Regions from separate parts of the Homo sapiens genome. Here all the other regions are linked to region 3. The links are contacts of gene promoters, found by promoter capture Hi-C in blood cells and fetal thymus (Javierre and others, 2016). All regions are on one chromosome and are shown on one strand. Each heading gives the region's core, a stretch centred on a gene start or on the middle of the fragment in contact. The rest is flanking DNA. Distances are from core to core; before and after follow the strand shown. Region 1 holds the start of NXT1 (nuclear transport factor 2 like export factor 1). Region 2 overlaps NAPB (NSF attachment protein beta). Region 3 holds the start of NANP (N-acetylneuraminic acid phosphatase).

Region 1 (4,094 bases), core at 294-2,793, 2.3 Mb before region 3:
TTCTAATTTTTCTAGGTATGAATCTTCATACTTTTCTAGGTATGAATCGACCCTGTGACACCAGGATGGTTCTTTGTCAGCCTCCTTGTCTATAAAATCAGAAATAATGGTACCTCCCCCAATAAGTTATGTGAAACAAATTAAAGGGGCTTATTATACAGGAAACAAAAGCAGCACAGCATCCAAACTACTGAGCGTGCAGTAAATCAACGCATTCCCACTTCCATTCCATCCACGCTGATTTAGATCAATCCAAGTATCACTGCCTTGGGGTTCAAAAGGCCATGTTAGTTCACAAAGCCCCGAAAATGCTCTTTCACACTCTCTGCTCAGCCTCCAACGTGTCTTTTTAATAATCCAAACTTTCCACCTACTTAACTGAAGTGTGTGGGGGGAGAGGGTGCGGGGGGGAAGGGGTGGCCTATACTAAATAGCCCAACTGTTTTCCACTTGTCCTGAAATCTGAGACCAAGATTCTCTTAGGAATGCAAGCAAAGGGAGCCGACGGGACGCCAAGAAAGCACAGGTTAAACTACCTCACTTCATCTAGCCCCATTTCTCTCCTGGCTTTTCAATTAATTATTCAGCCTCAGACCAGCAGATGGAGCTGAAAATGTTGTCTAAAGAAATGAGGTTTTTCTTTTAATTTACAAGCTATAGTTTCTCATGCCTCCACACTGAATGGTTACATCCTGTTGAGCCTGTTCGTAAAGTTCAGTAAAAATCCAGTTCTCATTCCAGAACAGCTGAATCGTAGCTATGAACGCGGAAGAACAGAGTCCCAACCCCAGCCGGGCCCGGGTTTCCCGGGGCCCCTCAAGCCTCAGGGCAGTGGAGAGCCGCCGTCACGCCCCCGCCTCCCCCACGTCCCACCCTCGCCCCAGTCTCCTCCCACTTTTAGCTACTTTTCCCATCTGACTAAAACTGGCTTCCTCCGTGTCCACCAAGATGTCGCCTCTAAGTGGCCTAACTCCTAAAGAGCGCGATCGGCTCAAGCACTCCGCCACGCGGTTTCCACGGGGCGCGGCCGGCGTTGCCCTCGCCGTGGCCTCAAGCATTGCGGCGCCCCACATGTTGCCAGACGGAAGGCCTCGGCGGGGTCAGGCAGCTGCTGCTGGCCGTGACTACATCACTGGTGACGTTTCACGAGACTTTTAACTGAAATCACTCCAATACAGGCGCATGCGGGACGAGGGGAAAGCATCTCACCCGACCCCACACACCTTCCCCTCCCTCTCCAGCCTAGCGGCCTCCGCTCAGCGGAAAAAAAAGCAGACGCTACTCCCCGCTCTAGGTGCGGGACCTAAGAGGTTTGGCCCAATCAGGCATCCCACCTAACCAGACGGGCCGGAGTCTGTGGCCCGGTTGGACCAACGAAAACTCTAGGGCGGATTTGCCGGGATTTCTGGGAAAGTGACACTCCCGGAAGCTACCGCCTCTTATAAGCCACACATGGGCGGAGTTAGCCTTCCGGCCCGCAGTCCCACTGGCTGACTTCGCTGCCCGTCACGGGAATGCGGGAGAGGGCGGCGCCGGGGCGCTCGCGTCTGCGTGGAGACCGGCTGGCCGCGCGCGGGAAGCCGCGGAACTGCGCCGGAAAGTCCCCCGGCTCTGGGGCCCCGGTGACCCAGAGTAAGCCTCCAAGAAGGAGGAGGAGGAGAGAAAGGCGGCTCTTCCCGTGCCCCTACCAGAGGCTTCGGTGGGCCCACCTTGTGACCTCCGCGGCCGGCCCCTCAGTGGAACTGCGTCCCACGCGGGGGGCGTCCCGACCGTGGGGGCCGCGGCCCGCGCTGACCCTGGACGTCGCCGCGCAGGTACGTTGCCGTCCCCCGGCGGTCTGACCCCCGAGACAGCCCCTAGTGCATACCCCACGCCCTCCTCCATTGTCGAGAATGAGACACGGCTGTGCCTTTGTCCACGTGGTAGAGTTGCCGCCGCGGTGAGGCTCTCGCCTGTGCAAAAAGCGTGGCAGCGAATTCTCATCAACGAGGGGAGGCGCGTCCCCTCACAGCGCAGCTCTCGGGTCTGAGGAGGGCCGGGCAGGGCGTGCGTCTGTCTAGGTTTGAATTAAAGGCGACTCACAGGAAATAAGGCCATGCCACTGTGGTAGCTTTTCCCGTCCATCTCCGGACACTCGACGGTGTGGGTCGTGCGAGGAGGCGGCAGTCTTCACAGCCTCTTACTCTAGTCCTCACGGTCAGGTTCTTTTTCTGATTTGACACAGACAGCGGGACTGACGACCTCATAGGTAGCTGAAAACCGTAAGTGGAGATGGTCCTTCTATGGTGTGTGGGGGCGTGGCCAGTTGTTAGATTGTGTTTGGAAAGACAGCCAGGGGCGGAGAAGAGGGGCATTTCTGAGATGATGGGGGGACTGGTGCCATGGAGGGAGGAGGAGTGAGGTGGAGATCGGGAATTCCAGCCAAAGAGAAATGGGGTCCCTGGGAGAAAATTCCCACTCTAGCAGTCCTGGAGTTGTGCTCATGGAGACTTGCTTACGCGAGTACAAGGACAGCGTTGTATTGACAAAATTTCAGCCCTCAGTCTAGTCTTGTAAACGATAGATCAGGAGTGTACTTAACCGTCGTTACTTTGATCCAGCCCTAGGTTTCCCTTTTCTCATTTGTAAAATTGTTATAGTAATACCTTTTTCATCCATTTGTGGTAACATTTAAATGAGGTAATTTGTGTGAAGCCCTTAGCAAACACAGCGCTTCTTAGTCGTGGGTTCCGCGTGGGGTGGATTCAACCAACCTCAAATCAAAAATATTCTTCAGAAAAAGAAAAATGCGTTTGTACTGAACATGTAGAGGCTTTTTTTTTCTTGTCATTATTTCCTAAACTATACAGTATAACAACTATTTACATCCCATCTACATTGTATTAGGTATTATAAGTTACCTACAGATGATGAAGGTATATAGGAGGATGCTGCGCATAGGTTATATCAAACAGTACACCATTTTATCAGGGACTTGAGCATCTGCAGGTGTTGGTATCCTCGGGGGTCCTGAATCCAGTTCCTCACAGATACCGAGGGACCACTGTACTCAGTCCAGAGTACAGTTGAGGCTTAACTATGAGGTCTGTGGAGGGCGTGGAAAGACCCACGTCTGAAATTGGCTCTTAACTGCTCATTTTTAGGACAGCTTCCCTCCCAGCCAGCCCTTTACCAGAGGCAATGCACCATCTTTGCAGCCGTTATAAGTACCTGGCTCTTTCCAGCCCTATGTGGAATGTTTTATTTATTTCATAAGCTAATCATTATAAAAAAAAAAGTCTTTTTTTTGAAATGAAAAAAAACTGTTCACTAAGTTTGTAAGTATAAACTATTTTAGTAATGTCCTCTATTTTAGTAATGTCCTCTTTTTTTTAAGTGAAATATTTTAATTATGGAGAAAAGAACATAACAGTTGTACCTGTACCCTGAAAAAAGTAAATGTCAATTTTTTAAATGCTTTTGGACTTTTTTATTTGGGGGACAATGTGACATTTCAGCTATAGTTCATATTCTGTGTCCACACACCCAAGAGCTTTGAAATCTAACATGCCTTTCTGTGGAGGCACTGTGACTCCACAGGACTTATCTGGTGGATGTTAGTACCTGTGTAAGCTGGGTGTCCTCCCTTCTAATCCCCACTCACCCAAGAGGTTTGCTGCTTCTAGCTTATCATGGGGATTATGGCTGCCATTTTGATTCTGTCCTCATGTCATTTGTGTTTCTACCCTCTTAAGAAACCTGCCTTCTCTGCCTTCCCAGTTCCTCCTGAGTGAGCTCATGATAGACTTTCCTAGACTCAGCAGCTGACGAGCATTTCATTGGTTTGGTTGGCCTTTATTGGGCCAGTGACCACTCTTCCCTTCAACATGGTCCACTGTCTTTACCAAGGGGCTGTCATGTCTGTTGCAAGCATTCAGGAAAGAGTGGCCTTCCATACTCAAATGTACTCTATTTTATAAAATGTGATTTTAAAAATTCGTGGTCCAATCAGGCCTCCTTATCCTCTGGGAATTGATTCCAGCAGCCCCCCTAGCCCCACAACAGACCAAATCTGCTGATGCTCCAAGTCCTTGATATAAAATGGCGTTAAGGCC
Region 2 (3,984 bases), core at 894-3,393, 2.2 Mb before region 3:
AAAAACCTCTGAATTGTACATTTTAAATCAGTGAATTGTACGGTATGTGTATTAAATCTCAATAAAACCTCCTCCCCAACACACACAAAAAAAATCAAAAAAACAAACAAAAACCTTTGGGGACTATGTTACACAGTGAAAGATAGAATGGCAACAAGCCATACCAAAAATGAAGTGTCAGAATAAGCTACAGCTTTCTCTCACACCTTCATGTCCCTTTCCCTCCACTTCAAATCTACACATTAAAAAAAAAGAAAAACAGCTAATAAGTTTCCTAAATGGAAAATTCCTCACATGAAAACATTCTCAACCTTAGCCATACCTCCCTTGGCGTAAAGTCTTGCTACTTTCTTGGGTCTTGTTTTTCTAAAGAGTACTGGGAATCTTGAACTGTAATTATAGTTCAATCATTCTTATTAAAGGTTTCTAAATAAAACTAGCTTAATTAAAATGTACTTTATCCACTTATTTTCAGAGACAGGATACAGCTAGAATTAACAGAGTTCCTACATTATTCCAGGTTTTATGCTAGATATTTCCATATATGTTATGTCATTTTCATTATTACAACCATGAAAGACACTATCTCTATTTTACTGAAGAGAAAATGGCATCTAGAGGACAATGGCTTATCCAAGGCTACCCAGCCAAGGTCAGTAGTGTACCTGACACTTGACTTCAAGTTCAGTGACCTTTGAACTTTGCTAAACCATGAGATCCTCATGTCTCCTGAAACAGAATTGCCAGAGGTAGCCTCACTTTAAAAACCCATTTGTCATAAACTGACCATAACTTTAAAACTTCCTGAAAAAAGGTACTTTTGAAATTACACCGGATGCTTATTTTGTTTTATGTGAAAGTTAATTTTTTGTAAATTTTATGGACAAGTATTCAGAATTTGCATTCAAAGTAACAACTGTTATCCAGAGGTCTCACAGTGAGGCAGAAGATCCTTGGAAAAAATATTCTGTGGGGAATCCATATTACGCAGCAACATAAGTTAAACACTTAGCACTCAATTGACATTAAGAAGCTAAACTGAGCTAAATTAACTATTTTTTTGTATTACAGGAATCTGACTTGGAAGAAGAAAACATTTTCCCCACCGTGAAAGAAAACACTGCCCAGCTAGCACAAAAACCACTGCCACCTGGCTGGCCCAGGTGAACCACCCTTGCATTCCAGAGGCAAGGCAGACTCTCTTCTTCTTGACCGTACTTATTCAGGAAATATTTACTGAGATCCATATGTGCCAGAAAACACTAAGGAAATAAACTTCTTGCCCACAAGGAGGTCACGACACTGAGGAAAGAATATCAAGCTTCACGGCCAGAAGGGTCTGAGAAAAAGCCTATCAATTCCCCATGTTCCCCTGAGGAAACATTGTCAAAGCCACAAATGTCCCACCAGGAGCCAGTGAACAGCAGAGCTGTGAAAACCAATTCATCTTCAAATAATCTAAAATCTTGATTTCCCCCATCCTGAATAATAACTATTGCAGAGCATTGTAAAACTATGACAACTATAGTCCGTACTATTTTAAAACTGTGGGTGGGAGGAAGGAGACATCGTAGAATTGTGAGAACTAATGACACACACATCATGAGATGTACCTCAAAGAAAAAGGCTGACAACTCCTGAGATAGAAATAAAGTTGCCTCTAAAATCACAAGATATTAGAGTAGAAATACCACAAAAAGTGACAGTGACAGTACTATGAAGATAAGCATGTAGAACCAGAGGCAAAATTCAGCTCTAACATCAGGATGCCATGAAGGGGTGTGTCAAGCCACCCCAAAAGACTGAAAAGGGACTTGCCCAGTGTGGGGAGCCTGGGGGGATCCCCACAAAGCATGGTACCTCCTTCTTCTCATTATTTACCAGCAGTATCTCCTTAGCCACTAGACTGATGCTCTGGGGAAGAGGAAGCAGCACAGGGCCTAGCACACAGGCCACAATAACAAGGCTGATGCTTAGTGTCTGGATGGAACAAACTGTCCACATTCATTTTTTAAGGTTTCCCATGTATGCCTCAAAATAATAAGCAAATGTAGAAAGAATCCAGAAGAGAGGAAAATTCAAAATCTGTCTGAACGTGCCTCTGCCATACACAACTACTCTGTGATATTATAGGCTCTATAAACAATTTATTTCCACCTGATGCTTCACTTCTGGAAACTCCACAGATTCTAAAAACTTGGGGCTTTCCTAGGTAAACTTAACCCTTCCAAGATTACTTTATTTCAGTGCTTAATATATTTTAAAACAGTACAAATCTTTTATGTGATGCAAAAGTAGAGATTTCTTCCGTGGAGGAGATGCAGAGGCCCCAGAAGGACACAAAACAACTGGAAGAGATATTTTTACATGTTCTCAACACAAAGAAATGATAAATGTATGAGGTGATGAGTATGCTAACTATCCTGATTTGATCATTATACAACACAGACGTATATCAAAAAATCAAACTGTACCCCATCAATATATGCAATACAATGTGTCAATTAAAAACTATTTTTTTAAAAAGGTAGGAGGGAGATACTCTCCAGAATGCTAATTTGAATTCTTACAGCAAAAGGCAGCATTTAAATGTTTCACTGTTCTTTTATAAATCGGTAATGCAGAAGCCCAAGGTATGGTGGAAAGGCCCAGGGCATGGGCTTGAGTCAGACCACCTACAAATGAACAGTATCATTTATTTACCAGCCTCCAGTTCCCTGGAGCAGCCAGGCCTGTCTTGGCCTTGGAGAGAAAGAAAAATTCCACCAAGCCAGCTAGCACTGTACCAGTAAGGGGAGCGCTGTCTCAGTGGCCTTGAGCTTTTGGAATCAATTTTCTAAGAACTTTTCAGTTTACTTCTGCTTAATTAAGGACAAAAATCATAGATTCTCAAACAGAGAAAATAATCAGAGACATTTAAGGCCTGTGACCAAAGTATTTGTGTTTAAGCACAATTTCCTGAAATAAAGCTTATGAGAACAAGTATAACAAAGAAAACTAGTTAGACTTTATTTTGACAATAGTTTTCTAATGCCTCAACTTTATATGGGGAGTAGTCATCTTTATAGAGAAGAAATAGGTATACACTGGACCTATTTATAAAACAAAACAAACATATTTAAATACTTAAGAAAGATAATGGTAACTGCTAGATTAATTCAGAAATGACTGTTACATACAACCTGATTTACCAAGAGCAGTTTTTAAATTGAATTTCAGTCTTTATAAAAATTTAAGCTGAATTTCAGTCTTCAGAAAATACTGATGAGACATGTGATTCCCAAAAAATCATGGTGGCTGCTTAGATAAATATATCCACACATCCTCCAAAAACCTTATAGATCAACAAAAAGCATACACAACCACCCATAATCCGTGCCTACAGCAAAAGGAGGCAGTATTCAGCAAGCCTCCATTAAATATAATTTAGGAAATAAAAAATCCAAAACTACCAGAGCTAGCAACACTGCCTCTGCTGCCAGTCAGAGGGGCGTCTGTCGACAGGAGAGGGGAGTTTAACCTGGCAATCATTGTCCAGGGAAGAACTCTCAGCAAGGAAGTGCCCTACCAGGGTGGGCAAACACCCCAGACCAGGTGGAAGACCTGGCAGGTTAGAGCACTGCAGTTGGGAACTGAATAGAAGGGCTTTGCCACAGGCTGCAGTTTCCAGAAGACACTGCTTCTGGGAGAAGGCAACTTAGAAGGTGGGGGCAGCTCTATGGAGGTTTGGCAGTGAAAGGAAAGAAGGCAAGTGATGGAAATACGTTCTTGAAACAAAAGAGTATCACAGAATTAGAAGTCACACAAACCTACCCCTCCACAGCACCATTCATTAAAGAAACCGCACTTAACTGTACCTACACAACGCAGCATTTAAACTAAGAAACCCATGAAGTCACACAAACCGCTCATCTCCTATCACAGAAACACATGCTATTGTGTGTCCAAGAAACTCTGTGACTCTCTACACTAAACAGAAAGGAG
Region 3 (3,792 bases), core at 269-2,768:
CCAAACTCTGGGCCTACAGCAAGAATTGGCCTAAAGCAATAATTTAATTGAAATGCACAGGACTCAGCTTACTAATAACACACAGGTAAATATGTAACATCTGCAGCGAGAGATACTGGAGGCAATATGGCACAGGGTGGCACCCCTGAGGTGGAGGCCAACAAGTTAAAAGTGTGGAATGCCTCAGTAAAGTCATGAAGACAGACTTTAAAAATGTCTACTGATTCCGGCATTTTGGGAATGCCTAGTGATCCAGCAAGTCTATTTCAGTCTAGCGGTGAAGATAAAGCGACATTACGATGGATTTAGTAATAAATAGGAGGTAGAGACAAGGAGATAACGGGTATAGATTTCTCCGGGAAAACATGGCTGTCAAGAGAGACAGGCAACATCTACAGCAGGAAGAATAGCCCAAAGGGAGGCATCCTTTTTACAGCTTTTTTAAAACTATAGGGCAAACATGAATATGCGGCAGGAGTGGAATGCAGCTAAAAAGAAAACGGATGAGGTAGTGGAAGATCCAGGGACACAAAAACTAACTGATGAAGCATGAAGAGGACGGGGCGCTCAGGTTTGGATGAATTAGCTTTTGAAAGTGAGTTTTCCACATCTGATAAATCCTTCCCTTTCCCCTTGAAGCTGAAGGTAGAGAAAGGGAAGCCGGGGTGGACTGGGGCTGGAACACGGGAAGGTCTGAAAGCGCCTCCGCGCGTGTAGAGGGGCAGTGCCGCGGAGGAGCGCCTCAGGAAGGGCATGCCCTCGCAGCACGGGCTTTTGCTGTGTCACGTGTCAGAAAGCCACGGTGACCACCACCCCGCCAGGGAGGCCAGAAGAAGTTCTGCGGCGACAATTCTCTAAAGCAGGGCTTAAGTCCAGGCTCGGTACTGACAGCCGTGTCCCTTCTTGGGTCAACACTGGGGCTAACTCTACCATGTCTCCTCCCAGCAACCCCGAAAGTCGCATGGGGGACACGACCCTCTGTCGAGCTCCACACCGACAGTCTGACCGGGGGCGGGACCAGCGCCTGGTCTCGCGGCTTTGCTGTCGCCTCCCGCGCCCACGGGCACCTCCGCCACCGTGGCAGCCGTCACGGAGCCCTTCCGCGTCCCGAGCGCCAAGGCACCTGCGAGCAGCCGCTCCAGGGCTCGAGATTGGGTGACAAGCGGCCGCCAGGCCAGGGAAAGCAGACCCGCAGGGCCCGCGCGCCTCCAGCCACCTCCGCACCCGCACGCTCCACAGGTTTCAACCAGCAAGAGCGGCCCGCGGCGCCGGGGTGGAAGTGGGGTCAAGGGGAGGTGAGCGTGCAGGACGGGGCGGGGCGCACTGACCCCGCCCAGAGGAGCGCCATGGGTGGGGACGTTACCTCCAACATGCCTCTCCTGCTCGCCCCGGCCGTGTCGATGAGAGTGTTGTCCAAGTCAAAGAAAACCGCCCGCACGCGGCTCAGCCCCATAGCGCCGGCCGCTGGCGCGAACCGTAGCCTTGCCACCGCCGCCTGCGCATGCGCAAGGCGGACTGCCCAGAGAGACGTGGGAGGAGCCGCGAAGTCACCAGACCATCTCCCGGCGCGGGTGGAATTCCCGCGATCTGTCTCATTCCCTGCGCCGCCGAGAAAAGTGAGATCCCGCGAGACTCCCAGGGTATGGTCTCTCAAGAGCCCTGGAAACGTGTGTCGGCGCCGCCGGATGCGGCGACTTCTCAGTGGCTGTGGCTGGCGTTGGTCCGAAGCGTGGTGTTCTTCCCTGGTGTCTTTCTGCTTATCTCTTTCCTCCCTGGGCCCTCCGGCGCGAGGGACCGTCATCACCTCCCCGAGAGAGGTTGTCCGCGCTGCCAGGCGCTGGGCAGCAGGCTCTCCGGGTGGCCGGGCGGGCGGCGCGGAGACGTCGGCGGGCCTGATGTCTGCCTTGAGCGCCCGCGGTCCTAGCCTGCCTGTACGCGCAGGTCACTGTAGGTGATCTGGGGACGGGGGAAGGTGGAGCCTGCGCCTTCCCGCCTCGCGCCATTTGCGGCCTTCGCCGGGGTGGAATCCCTGTCTGCCTGGGCCCGCGCCAGCACGTTTCTGAAGGATGTGACTTGGGTCTCTTACAACCCGTTTAGTACCTGTGCCCTAAGACGGAGGGGCTGTGTAGTGGCTGCCCCATGTTTTGCCCTTCCTGATTGTTTTCCTGAAACCTTGCGTTCTCAGGTCTTTGGATGCCTTTTACTCGGTTGTTTTCAGGCATAGCAAGAGGTTGAGGGACGTCGACCGCCTTTTAAACCCGCGGAAGGGCTGTAGCAACTCTTGTCTCCTAGTGCTGGCAGAACGGGGATCGTAACACTAATCTCTAATCTTTGTCTCTCTTGGGTACCTTTACTGTAATTTGGATATGTGGTCATCATTAGTGACCAGAAATTGACTGTCAGGTACAGGCCAATTACCTGATTTTGTTTAGCCAGTGAGCTAAGTGGTTTTTTTTATTTTTTAATTTATTTTTATTTTTATTTTCGAGATGGAGTCTTGCTCTGTCACCCAGTCTGGCGTGTAGTGGCACGATCTTGGCTCACTGCAACCTCCGCCTCCCGGGTTCAAGCAATTCTCCGGCTTCAGCCTCCTGAGTAGCTGGGATTACAGGCGCATGCCACCACCCCCCGGCTAATTTTTGTATTTTTAGTAGAGACGGAGTTTCACCATGTTGGCCAGGCTGGTTCTCGAACTCCTGACTTCGTGATCCACCCGTCTTGGCCTCCCAAAGAGCTGGGATTACAGGCGTGAGCCACCGCGCCTGGCTAAGGGTGATTTTTACATTTGTAAATGGATTTAAAAAATCAAAATAACAGTGTTTTGTTACACATGAAAATCAAGAAATTTTAGTGCCCATAGTTGCATTAGAACACAGCGCACACATTCATTTCTGTATCGTCTGTGGCTGCTGTTGCCATACAGAAGCAGACAGAGTTGAGTAATTGTAAGCGAGACCACGTGGCTGGAAATCCTAAAATATTCATTATTTAGCTCTTTAGAGAAAAAAATTGCCAGTCTCTCACCTCGCTGGTGGAACTCCTTAACAGACCACTGATGTTCAGTAGGTTAGATTAATTGGTTTATCTTTATATTAATAGGAGTTTCTTCTGCAGCGTTAGACTACCTACAGTTTCTATATTTTATGGAGCACAATCACAGTTGACATCTCATTGCTATGGTGGAGAATAAACCCATAGGCATTCCTCAAAACCATGACTCCTTTCTGTGCTTACCTCATTGACGTATAGGGCTAGCCTATCAATTGTGGACATTTAGATTAGCAATCAGCCAAAATTATGGTGAATTAATTGGAGTTACTTTTAATTGCCTGAAATGTCAGAATCAATTTAGCATAAAACTATAGGCACAGGAAGCTTATAGGATTGGAGCAGCTTTTTTTTTTTTTTTCTGACTTGCATGCAGAGTTTGTTGTTTGCTGATTTAGGCAAAAATCTAAGGTTAGATGAGGCATAGCAGTCTGTATAATCCTTTTAAGGGGATGCGTTGTTTGATAGATTTCCTTTTGTGACAAGTCGTCTAATGGCATTCCATGACCTGTCCAACTTTGTGTAGAGCACCCTATTCTGTTGCTGTTCATAAAAATCTGAATCTGTTGTCCCACACATAGCACCAATTGAAAATAAAAAACAGGAGAGGGAGGATTAAAATTGGCCTATACCGCCTCCTCCAATTGCAGAAACATCGGTGCTGCCTCCTTCGGTAGTAGAAATAGAAACCCCAACACAAAGAATTTTACGCTCTGCTGTCATAGCTGGAGAGCCCTTAGGACC

What was found. Contacts are between HindIII fragments. The CHiCAGO score rates a contact against its expected background, and 5 or more counts as called.
Region 1: the fragment with the promoter of NXT1 here is called in contact with the fragment with the promoter of NANP in region 3 in 2 of 17 cell types (non-activated CD4 T cells and naive CD8 T cells); the score reaches 6.9 in non-activated CD4 T cells.
Region 2: a fragment that was not itself captured here is called in contact with the fragment with the promoter of NANP in region 3 in 1 of 17 cell types (total B cells); the score reaches 5.9 in total B cells.

What each region holds. Positions count from the first base shown.
Region 1 is chr20:23,349,248-23,353,341 of GRCh38, forward strand. NXT1 (nuclear transport factor 2 like export factor 1) reads left to right here and starts at 1,544. Exons shown (of 2, transcript NM_013248.3): 1 at 1,544-1,814. NXT1-AS1 (NXT1 antisense RNA 1) reads right to left here and starts at 2,220. Exons shown (of 3, transcript XR_937384.2): 1 at 2,083-2,220. RefSeq lists enhancers at 545-1,417, 1,126-1,265, 1,185-1,479, 1,418-2,289, 2,346-2,395 and silencers at 836-965, 1,586-1,855. The HindIII fragment of the contact is 12,471 bases long and covers 1-4,094 here.
Region 2 is chr20:23,406,396-23,410,379 of GRCh38, forward strand. The region is part of intron 1 of NAPB (NSF attachment protein beta); the gene reads right to left. Among named protein-coding and RNA genes, the nearest start is that of NAPB, 13 kb to the right of the region's middle. RefSeq lists enhancers at 1,753-1,812, 1,953-2,012. The HindIII fragment of the contact is 1,648 bases long and covers 1,320-2,967 here.
Region 3 is chr20:25,622,496-25,626,287 of GRCh38, forward strand. It overlaps NANP (N-acetylneuraminic acid phosphatase), which reads right to left and starts at 1,519. Exons shown (of 2, transcript NM_152667.3): 1 at 1,364-1,519. The coding sequence starts at 1,453. It overlaps ZNF337-AS1 (ZNF337 antisense RNA 1), which reads left to right and starts at 1,550. Exons shown (of 4, transcript NR_126465.1): 1 at 1,550-1,640. RefSeq lists enhancers at 792-1,467, 1,439-1,608 and a silencer at 1,209-1,268. The HindIII fragment of the contact is 6,234 bases long and covers 1-3,373 here.